Linked DNA regions of Homo sapiens: region 2 is linked to region 1. The links are contacts of gene promoters, found by promoter capture Hi-C in blood cells and fetal thymus (Javierre and others, 2016). All regions are on one chromosome and are shown on one strand. Each heading gives the region's core, a stretch centred on a gene start or on the middle of the fragment in contact. The rest is flanking DNA. Distances are from core to core; before and after follow the strand shown. Region 1 holds the start of TAAR6 (trace amine associated receptor 6). Region 2 has its middle 44 kb from the start of SNORA33.

The links. Contacts are between HindIII fragments. The CHiCAGO score rates a contact against its expected background, and 5 or more counts as called.
Region 2: a contact is called between a fragment that was not itself captured here and the fragment with the promoter of TAAR6 in region 1, in 1 of 17 cell types (neutrophils). The highest score is 5.2, in neutrophils.

What each region holds. Positions count from the first base shown.
Region 1 is chr6:132,568,146-132,572,720 of GRCh38, forward strand. It overlaps TAAR6 (trace amine associated receptor 6), which reads left to right and starts at 2,177. Exons shown (of 1, transcript NM_175067.1): 1 at 2,177-3,214. The coding sequence starts at 2,177. The coding sequence ends at 3,214. The HindIII fragment of the contact is 3,206 bases long and covers 363-3,568 here.
Region 2 is chr6:132,858,789-132,863,363 of GRCh38, forward strand. No RefSeq gene overlaps it. Among named protein-coding and RNA genes, the nearest start is that of SNORA33, 44 kb to the left of the region's middle. The HindIII fragment of the contact is 1,450 bases long and covers 1,538-2,987 here.

The sequences.
Region 1 (4,575 bases), core at 927-3,426:
TGAAAGAGTTGTATATGTGCAATAATTTTAGAGGCCTTGAAAACACCCTCCAATTGACATCCCATGTCAGCACTGGACTAGGGCTCTTTATTCACTAATCCAGAACATTAAAGTATAAGTTAAAACAGAATCCTCTAGTACGTTTAAGTGGTACAATAAAAAAATAGAATATCTAAAATTCTATAAATATTAAAGTAGAATTTTTGTTTTCTCATGTTTTTAGGGACCCCTTTGTCTCATCTGCCTGTCATTGTGCTTACTGTAGACGCTATTGTCTTTCGTCTGTGTAGTACTTATCACAATTTGAAATTGTAAATCTGTCTTTCTATTTCCTTAAGTTTTGTTTTCCTCTTAAGATTATAAGCTTCGTGAGTATAGTGGTCATAACAGTTTTGTTCATTACTTGAATACACAGCTACTGGAATTCAATAAATATGTGTTGAATAGATGAATTAATAAATGAATATCAGAATGATGAAGGGATATAAAGTTATTTTTCTATTTGAAATCGAGGCATCACTTGACACTTTTTTATTGCCTAAGACAATTGTCTTAATGGAGGAAGGGGGTTGATTTTGTCCCTTGAGGAATTTGGCAATGTCTGGAGACGTTTTTGGTATCTCAACTAGAAGGATTTTACTGACATCTCGTAGCAGGGGTGCTGCTAAAAGCCACGTGATTAACAGAATAATTTATCATATCAAAGAGTTATCTGAATTCAAAAGTCCATTGTGCTCAAGTTGAGAAAGCCCCGCACGGGGTTTTGTCTATATAAGAAATTGACACCATTTCACAAAATCAGACATACAGAAAATATTAAGAAGCATCTGAAAACTACTTGGTTAAGAGTGTTAATTTTATTGAGTAGGAATCAGATAGCGAGATTGATTAATAATAATACTTATCACTCTTTATAACTTGAAAAGCAAGTTCACAAATGTCTCTAAAGTCACAGCCCTGTACTGGAAAGAGAGTTGAACCCTTCTTCAGGAAGACAATAATATAATAATAACAATATTTTCTTCACTCTGCAGTGTCTTTACATTCCAGGGTTGGGAACATTACTGAGGATTCTCTTCCCATTTTCCAGTTTCCTGTTCATTATTCTTATTTTTTTGACTGCTTTTAGCATCGGGAGCACAAAGGCCAGTCACCAGGAATTGCAAACAAATGCGTAGTCAGAGAGAGAGGGCTCACTGCCCATTTGTCATGTGGATGCAGACACATTGCAGATGTGTTCCCAGTAACAATGTCTTGAGAAGAGGACTGGTCTTTCCACCAGCATCTCAGAAATGCCGGTGTGTCTAAACAGCATGTCGTTCTTTAATGCTTTCATGCAATATATTTTATCAATCTCAAGTTCCCCTCACTATGTATTATAATAATTTCTGCTTGTTGGTAACCAATGCAGATGGAAAATTGATTCTTAACAGAAGAGAAAGAGCCAAGTATTGATGCTTACTATTTACACCCTATTGTATCTTTGTAACAAAAACCCGGGTGGCTAAGTTATGATTGGGAACAAGGGAATGGTTCAAGTCTATGCACTAAGGAAAAACAAATCTTTGGCCTAAAACAATAATGATAATAGAATTTAATATAGAGTAGAGACCTGTTTTGTAGAATAACTTTCCTAGTAATCACTGTTGAAAATAATCATACTAGTTCACACCGCGCACTACAGGGATTCCATCGAGGGATTTTCCCATTGAAGGCATTTATTTAGCTAAAAGGACTTCATCTTTAAGGCGGTAATGCAGGACAGATAACAGAGATAAAGATAACAGGAGGTGATCTTTCAGCTCCATAATTACATTCCATATCAGCGACTGTTGCACAGAGAAACTCAAAAGGTAAAAATAAAATATGAAAGGATATTTAAAATCAAAAGGAATTTTATCAAATTAAGAGCATGAGACATTTATCAGTTGAAACAATCTCCAATAATCTTGTGCAATATAATTTTTGTCAAATTTTATTTTGTCATAAACATTTGGGATTTATAATAAAAATGGAAACTTGAAAAATTATATTAGAGATAATATCTGATCATTTCCTCTGGCATCCTGGTGAATATGTGTTTTTTTCCGCAGGAGCACTGAAAATCAGGAACAATCCTGTATTTTTTGTGATAATCAACAAGGACAAAACTTCTCCATATGTAAATAACAGCGTTATGAGCAGCAATTCATCCCTGCTGGTGGCTGTGCAGCTGTGCTACGCGAACGTGAATGGGTCCTGTGTGAAAATCCCCTTCTCGCCGGGATCCCGGGTGATTCTGTACATAGTGTTTGGCTTTGGGGCTGTGCTGGCTGTGTTTGGAAACCTCCTGGTGATGATTTCAATCCTCCATTTCAAGCAGCTGCACTCTCCGACCAATTTTCTCGTTGCCTCTCTGGCCTGCGCTGATTTCTTGGTGGGTGTGACTGTGATGCCCTTCAGCATGGTCAGGACGGTGGAGAGCTGCTGGTATTTTGGGAGGAGTTTTTGTACTTTCCACACCTGCTGTGATGTGGCATTTTGTTACTCTTCTCTCTTTCACTTGTGCTTCATCTCCATCGACAGGTACATTGCGGTTACTGACCCCCTGGTCTATCCTACCAAGTTCACCGTATCTGTGTCAGGAATTTGCATCAGCGTGTCCTGGATCCTGCCCCTCATGTACAGCGGTGCTGTGTTCTACACAGGTGTCTATGACGATGGGCTGGAGGAATTATCTGATGCCCTAAACTGTATAGGAGGTTGTCAGACCGTTGTAAATCAAAACTGGGTGTTGACAGATTTTCTATCCTTCTTTATACCTACCTTTATTATGATAATTCTGTATGGTAACATATTTCTTGTGGCTAGACGACAGGCGAAAAAGATAGAAAATACTGGTAGCAAGACAGAATCATCCTCAGAGAGTTACAAAGCCAGAGTGGCCAGGAGAGAGAGAAAAGCAGCTAAAACCCTGGGGGTCACAGTGGTAGCATTTATGATTTCATGGTTACCATATAGCATTGATTCATTAATTGATGCCTTTATGGGCTTTATAACCCCTGCCTGTATTTATGAGATTTGCTGTTGGTGTGCTTATTATAACTCAGCCATGAATCCTTTGATTTATGCTTTATTTTACCCATGGTTTAGGAAAGCAATAAAAGTTATTGTAACTGGTCAGGTTTTAAAGAACAGTTCAGCAACCATGAATTTGTTTTCTGAACATATATAAGCAGTTGTATAGACGAAGTTCAGGATACCTTTAAAATTACCAAGCGAAATGAGTTTTTAAAAATCAAGTAAGACTATGAATGAATAGCAAATAAATTGCTCTTCAAATGAAAAACAAATCAATGTTTTTCAGTCTTGTTAAGATGTGCACTTTCCTGTCCCTTCTGCAAAAGTATTTACTTGGCTAACAAATGTTAAATTCCTATTTGTTAACTGCTTTAGAGCTCAGCATATCCCACTCCCTGCAGACACTTTTTGTCTTTTAATCCATTGACTCTTCCCTCTGCTCTGGTATTTTTCCTAAAAATATTTGTTTTTTTTTTTTTATTTATTCCCTTTCCTCTTTTCTTTACAAAGCTTTCTACTCTTTCCCAGCCTGCCAAAAATTTCATTTGTGAATAGCCTTTATCAAATTATTGGTTTCTTTTGCTTTGGTTATTTTACCACAGGAGTCCTTTTAGGTATTAATTTAATTTATTCAATCTTGGGAGAGATCTCAGGGTGTATGGGGCAATTTGCAAATGAAGACATCATCTTGACCAGGCTGTTGTAATTGTCAAACCAGTTACTGTCATTCTTGTAATTATTTCCTCCCCCAAAGTGGGAAGCAGAAGCCACTGTACTTCCCAGAATGATGTTAGGATGATTATTTGGCTGCTGTTCTTGCTATTGCACAAAACTGTTTAAAGAGTTGGTATGAATAGAGCCCTGTGTTACATTATTCAGTTCATACACATTGAATATTACTTGTTCCTTTAGGGAGGATATCTTTCAAGTGCAGTCTCTAGCTTTCTTTTCTTTTTTTTTCTATATTAAAACTTAATTACAGCAAGGAATTTGCAAGATTAGAAGCCATGTGGAATATACATCAATGAGAAGCATTCAGGTATTCATCCATGTTTTTTCCATTTACCAAACATGAAACCTGTGCCTATATTGTATGGAAATCAGTGCTAGATGCCTTAGACACAGGCATAACATCCCATTTTTGTCTTTAATAAGCTGTGACTCTGGCAAGAAGCAATGTTGGTCACTGAAAATTTTAAAAAGGGCGAACACTAGCTCAACCAGGTAATTAAGGTTCAATATCAGTAGTAGTAAGGCATGTGGCTATTGTGTGTTCTTGACATTATGTAATGAGAATGGCTTTTACCTCTATGTCCTTTCTTCCCCAAATCCATAACCCCCATGTAGTCATGAGAAAAATGTCAGACGAAACTTTATCGGGAATATTCTGCATAATATTTGATCAGTATTTCTCAAAACTGTCAGTCATCAAAAATAAAGTATGAGAAACTGTCATGATCTACAGGAAACTAAGAAGACATGACAACTAAACGTAGTATGGCATCCTAAATGGAA
Region 2 (4,575 bases), core at 1,013-3,512, 290 kb after region 1:
ATACTAACCAAATGTGTCCGCATGTTTTCAATTAAGCAGAGGAATGTTAAATGTAAAGCTAAATTGATGAAAATAACCAAACTTTCTGACAAACCAATAAATTGGAGTCTAGAACTCATTGCCCATACTGTATGGCAGCCAGAGAAACATTGCTAGATCATCAATTTTTACCTAATTTTTGAGTTACTTTATACTTGAAAAGAGAAAAGGAATGCTAGGAAAGTAATTTAAATTATTCCCAGCTATAAACAGAGAATATGCACATTGGACGTAGACCTTATTCTTCCCTGTATGCAATTGAACTGATTGTTTATTCTTTTGGCAATTTCCTCACTGAAATTTTTGGAAATGTAAAACAGAGTTTTCAGGGAACTCTCATGTCAACATTTTGGCAAATGATCTGGCAACATGCTAGTCATTGGACCGCTTTTCTGAACTTCTCAGAACTACTCCATGGCAATCTGTATTCTTTGAAAGGGATGTTTTAATTTTCCTTCCCTCAAATTTTTATTCCTTCAAGTTGCTGTCACGTTGAGATGACAATATACTAGAAAAATTATGAGTTTGGAGAAGAAAATTCTAAATTTCTTCCTGAAAACAGAGGGTAAAATTACATAGTCAGAAATATGACTCTCTGCACATTTCTGCTTATGTCAGATGTTTCCATTTTTAATACAGAAATTTACCTCTGAATTGGTCTTTTTATTTTGTGAGAGATGGCAGGAAATAAACCTTTGAAATCAAAGAAAGGGGAAGCTAAGGCCGTCATCTTTGCCACTGTGAAATGGGTACCCTTTGCTGAAAGGTCAGTCAGAAACCCAGGCTCCCACATCTTGATCTCCACTGCCCTACAGGTACAGAAGTTTCCCGTGATCCTCTCGCTAAGAAAGTAGAACTGCTTCCAAATGTAAGGTAGTGTCTCTAAGTTTCTATGGTTCTATCCTAAGCTCAAAGTGTGCCAGAAGGACCCTGTATCTTATTTGGGCAAAATTTTAGTCCAGGCAAAGGCCTATTTCAAAACCGATTAATGCTATAATTTTTTTTCTAACAACACTGGGGAACAATCAGTTTTTCAAATTAGTTGGTCACTCAACACTTTTGTCTGGTGGCCACTCAAAAAATATTATTTTTTGCAAAATTATTTTTGGACACTTCCATGAAACTGCTCCTTTTTAAATTAAAGTTTCATGCTCTGGCTTTTATTAAAGTTTCAAACCTTTTCTCAATGTTTGATCAAATTCACCCGAAATTTAAATCAGAGTTAATTACATATATTAGATATTTCCAAGGACTTACATTTTAAATTTTTATTACTTATTTAAATGGCATTCAGAGGAAAAAAATGAAATAATCTCATTTGAGGGCAGGCAACATGGTTTTCCCTCAGTTTACCTTTGCATCTAGTTGTTCCTAATGGTGTTGACTTCATATAAATGCTCAATTACTATTGCTGCTATAGTTCCCATTAAGTGCTGTATTTAAGATGAGTGGTGGTGGCCTCTTGATCAATCAAGTATTTAAAGCATCTTATCCTTTAAGCTTTCATGTTATCCACACATTTAATTTGCTTAAAACCTCTTAGGTATTCATTCAAATCACAGATGAAAAAATTGAACATCTGCATTCTGAGATAAGCTGCTGGTTATCTCCCTCCAGGTTCAGTTGATCTGCAGATATGTATTGGGTATTTAGGCCCTTTGCTCAGGCCAGGGTTGCAAAGATAATATTACATGATCTCTGTCTTCCAATAACTCTCAATAGAGAGGATAGTAAAGCATTGATTAATAAATATGTTATCAGCCAGCTATGAATTCATTTAATGTGGTATTCCCCAGATCACAGTCCTCATTCTTTCCATATAAGTGTCTGCTATCCATATATAAGGCAATAGGATAAGTCTTAGAAAAAAATTATGCTTTGTGATATTTATTTCATCTACAAATTTATTTTTAAAGACTTTATCAAGAGTTTTGCTATAATCAAGGCCCACTACGCCTACTGATTTAGGATAGTTTCAGCCCAGTATAGACAGGCATAGTTTGTAGGGAACAAGGTTAACTCTCAAGTTCAGCATGATAACTGAAGCCTTCTGATACTCTGATTTCTTAGTTGGGCATTCCTCTGACTTTTACCGTCCTCTCTTCTGGGTTTGATCCCATTTTTCTAATAACTTCTTTGTATTCATATTTCTCATCCATCTTTTCTTTAGTCTTTCACAACTCCCTGCCCTCTGACTATATCCAACACTGCTCAATTTTCACATTAGTGTTTAGCTTTTGGTCAATTTGTTGCTCATTCAAACATTACAACTTTCAAAAACATGTAAAGATAGCTAATAAACATATTAGGCATGATATTTGTAAGTCATGATACATTAGTCACTCTCATTACATACATTTTCTCTAAATATATCTGATATAACTTTTGTCTCTAGCCAAAAGATATTAAGTCATATGTAATAGGGGGTAAGAAATACGACTCTTTATACTGTACTTCAGCCTATGGCTCAAAGACTGATCAATACAAAGTTATCATGAGGATGGTGGGGCAGCGTATTTCAAAGTGAGGTTTCAAGGAAGTCTTTATGGACCATCCCACACTCAAGAAACACTGTTAGGCCCACTTCATCTGATTTGCGCTTCAAGAGCTGCCTAGAGTACTCAGGAACCTTACCATTACAACAGAGAAGTAGATGGGGTCTAGAAGGTTTTCCACTTGACCGATGGTCAACCATGTTATAATCCTTTCATTACAATTCTGTTGTCATTTTGGTAAACAAAGAATAACATTCAGATTCAAAAATCATTTATTATTAAGGGTCTATTGTGTGTAGGCATAGGCACTTTCACAATAAATTGCTATTCTTTAACTTAACAAATATGTATCTTGAGAACCCATTATGTGTCACGTTTGGTACTATATGGAAAATTTGATATTTGGTCTAAAATCTTGGGAAACATCCATCAAATATACAATATGAAAATGAAAGCTTCTCAGAAAGTTATTTGTGTGTTTTTTTTTGTTTTTTTTTTTTTTTTTTTTTTTCGGGATGGAGTTTCACTCTTGTTGCCCAGGCTGGAGTGCAACGGCGCAATCTCCGCTCACTGAAACCTCTGACTCCCGGGTTCAAGCGATTCTCCTGCCTCAGCCTCCCAAGTAGCTGGGATCACAGGTGCCTGCCACTACACCCGGCTAATTTTTTTGTACTTTTGGTAGAGACGAGGTTTCACCATGTTGGCCAGGCTAGTCTTGAACTCCTGACCTGAGGTGATCCACCCACCTCGGCATCCCAAAGTGCTGGGATTACAGGCGTGAGCCACCGCACCCAACCTCCAGAATCTATAAATGCTAAACAACAACAAAACAAAATGAAAGAGTTTTAAAATAGGAATATTGTTTATATTTTTATATGATTTTTCAAGCACAAAGCAGAATGAAGCAAAAATTACTTATGGGGGAAAATATACACATTTTACCTTTATACTTTTTTCTTTTATTTTGTTCCTGCTTGAGCATTAACAACAACGTATGGTGAATATAAGTTTGCAATATATATAATGCTTTTGTATTTTTCATGAATTTTAATGTAAATACTCATATTCAAACTGAATGGATTAGATGAATCCAATTCATATATGCACGACTCACATAACTTTGGTTCCTAGGAAACTTGCGTAACCTACTTTTTGGTAGATTCCTTTATCTTCATTCAGAAGTGCTGCCTTTTCAGTGTTGGCTAAGTTCTAAGAAGAGATTAGAAAGGAATAGGCCGAGAACTCAGAAAACCTTGTTCCTACTTCTAATTTAGGCGCTTGACATTAGCTGTGTTTCATTGCTTCCCCATATTTAGCATTGGTAAAATGTCTATTGAATAGCAATCTTAAGAGATACATTAAAAGTCATTTCAATTTTAAGGGCTTTAATAATAAAGGTATAAAAACAATAGCGACATAGATAATAGTAGCTAGCATTTATAAGGCCAAGTATTTTATTTTATGTTAGTTTAGTTTAGTTTCGTTTCGTTTAAAGATGGAGTCTTGCTCTGTTACCCAGTCTGGAGTGCCGTATCGCATGATCTCGGCTCACCGTAACCTTTGCCTCCCAGACTCAAGCAATCCTCCCACCTCAGCCTCCTGAGTAGCTGGGATTACAGGCACGCACCATCATGCCTGGCTAATTTTTTGTATTTTTAGTAGAGGCGGGGTTTCAACATGTTGGGCGGGCTGGTTTCAAACTCCTGACCTCAAGTGATCCACCTGCCTCGGCCTCCCAAAGTGTTGGGATTATAGGTGTGAGCCACCGCGCCCAGCAGGCCAAGTATTTTAATACATCCTCTTGTAATTCTTACACCTCTCTGTGCTGTAGGCTCTGGTATTATCTCCACTTTGTGGCTGAGGAAACAAAAGTTTCAAGAGATTAACTATCTTTCCCAGATCTGAATGCTCTTAATGCCTGTGTTATGGAGGCTCTTTTGGATTTTTTTCTCATTAGTTGGTATTTGTCTTAAATGAATAATACAGTAATAATAGCTATATCTATAAATCCAAAGCTGGTGCTCATCACCATTGTTTGAAA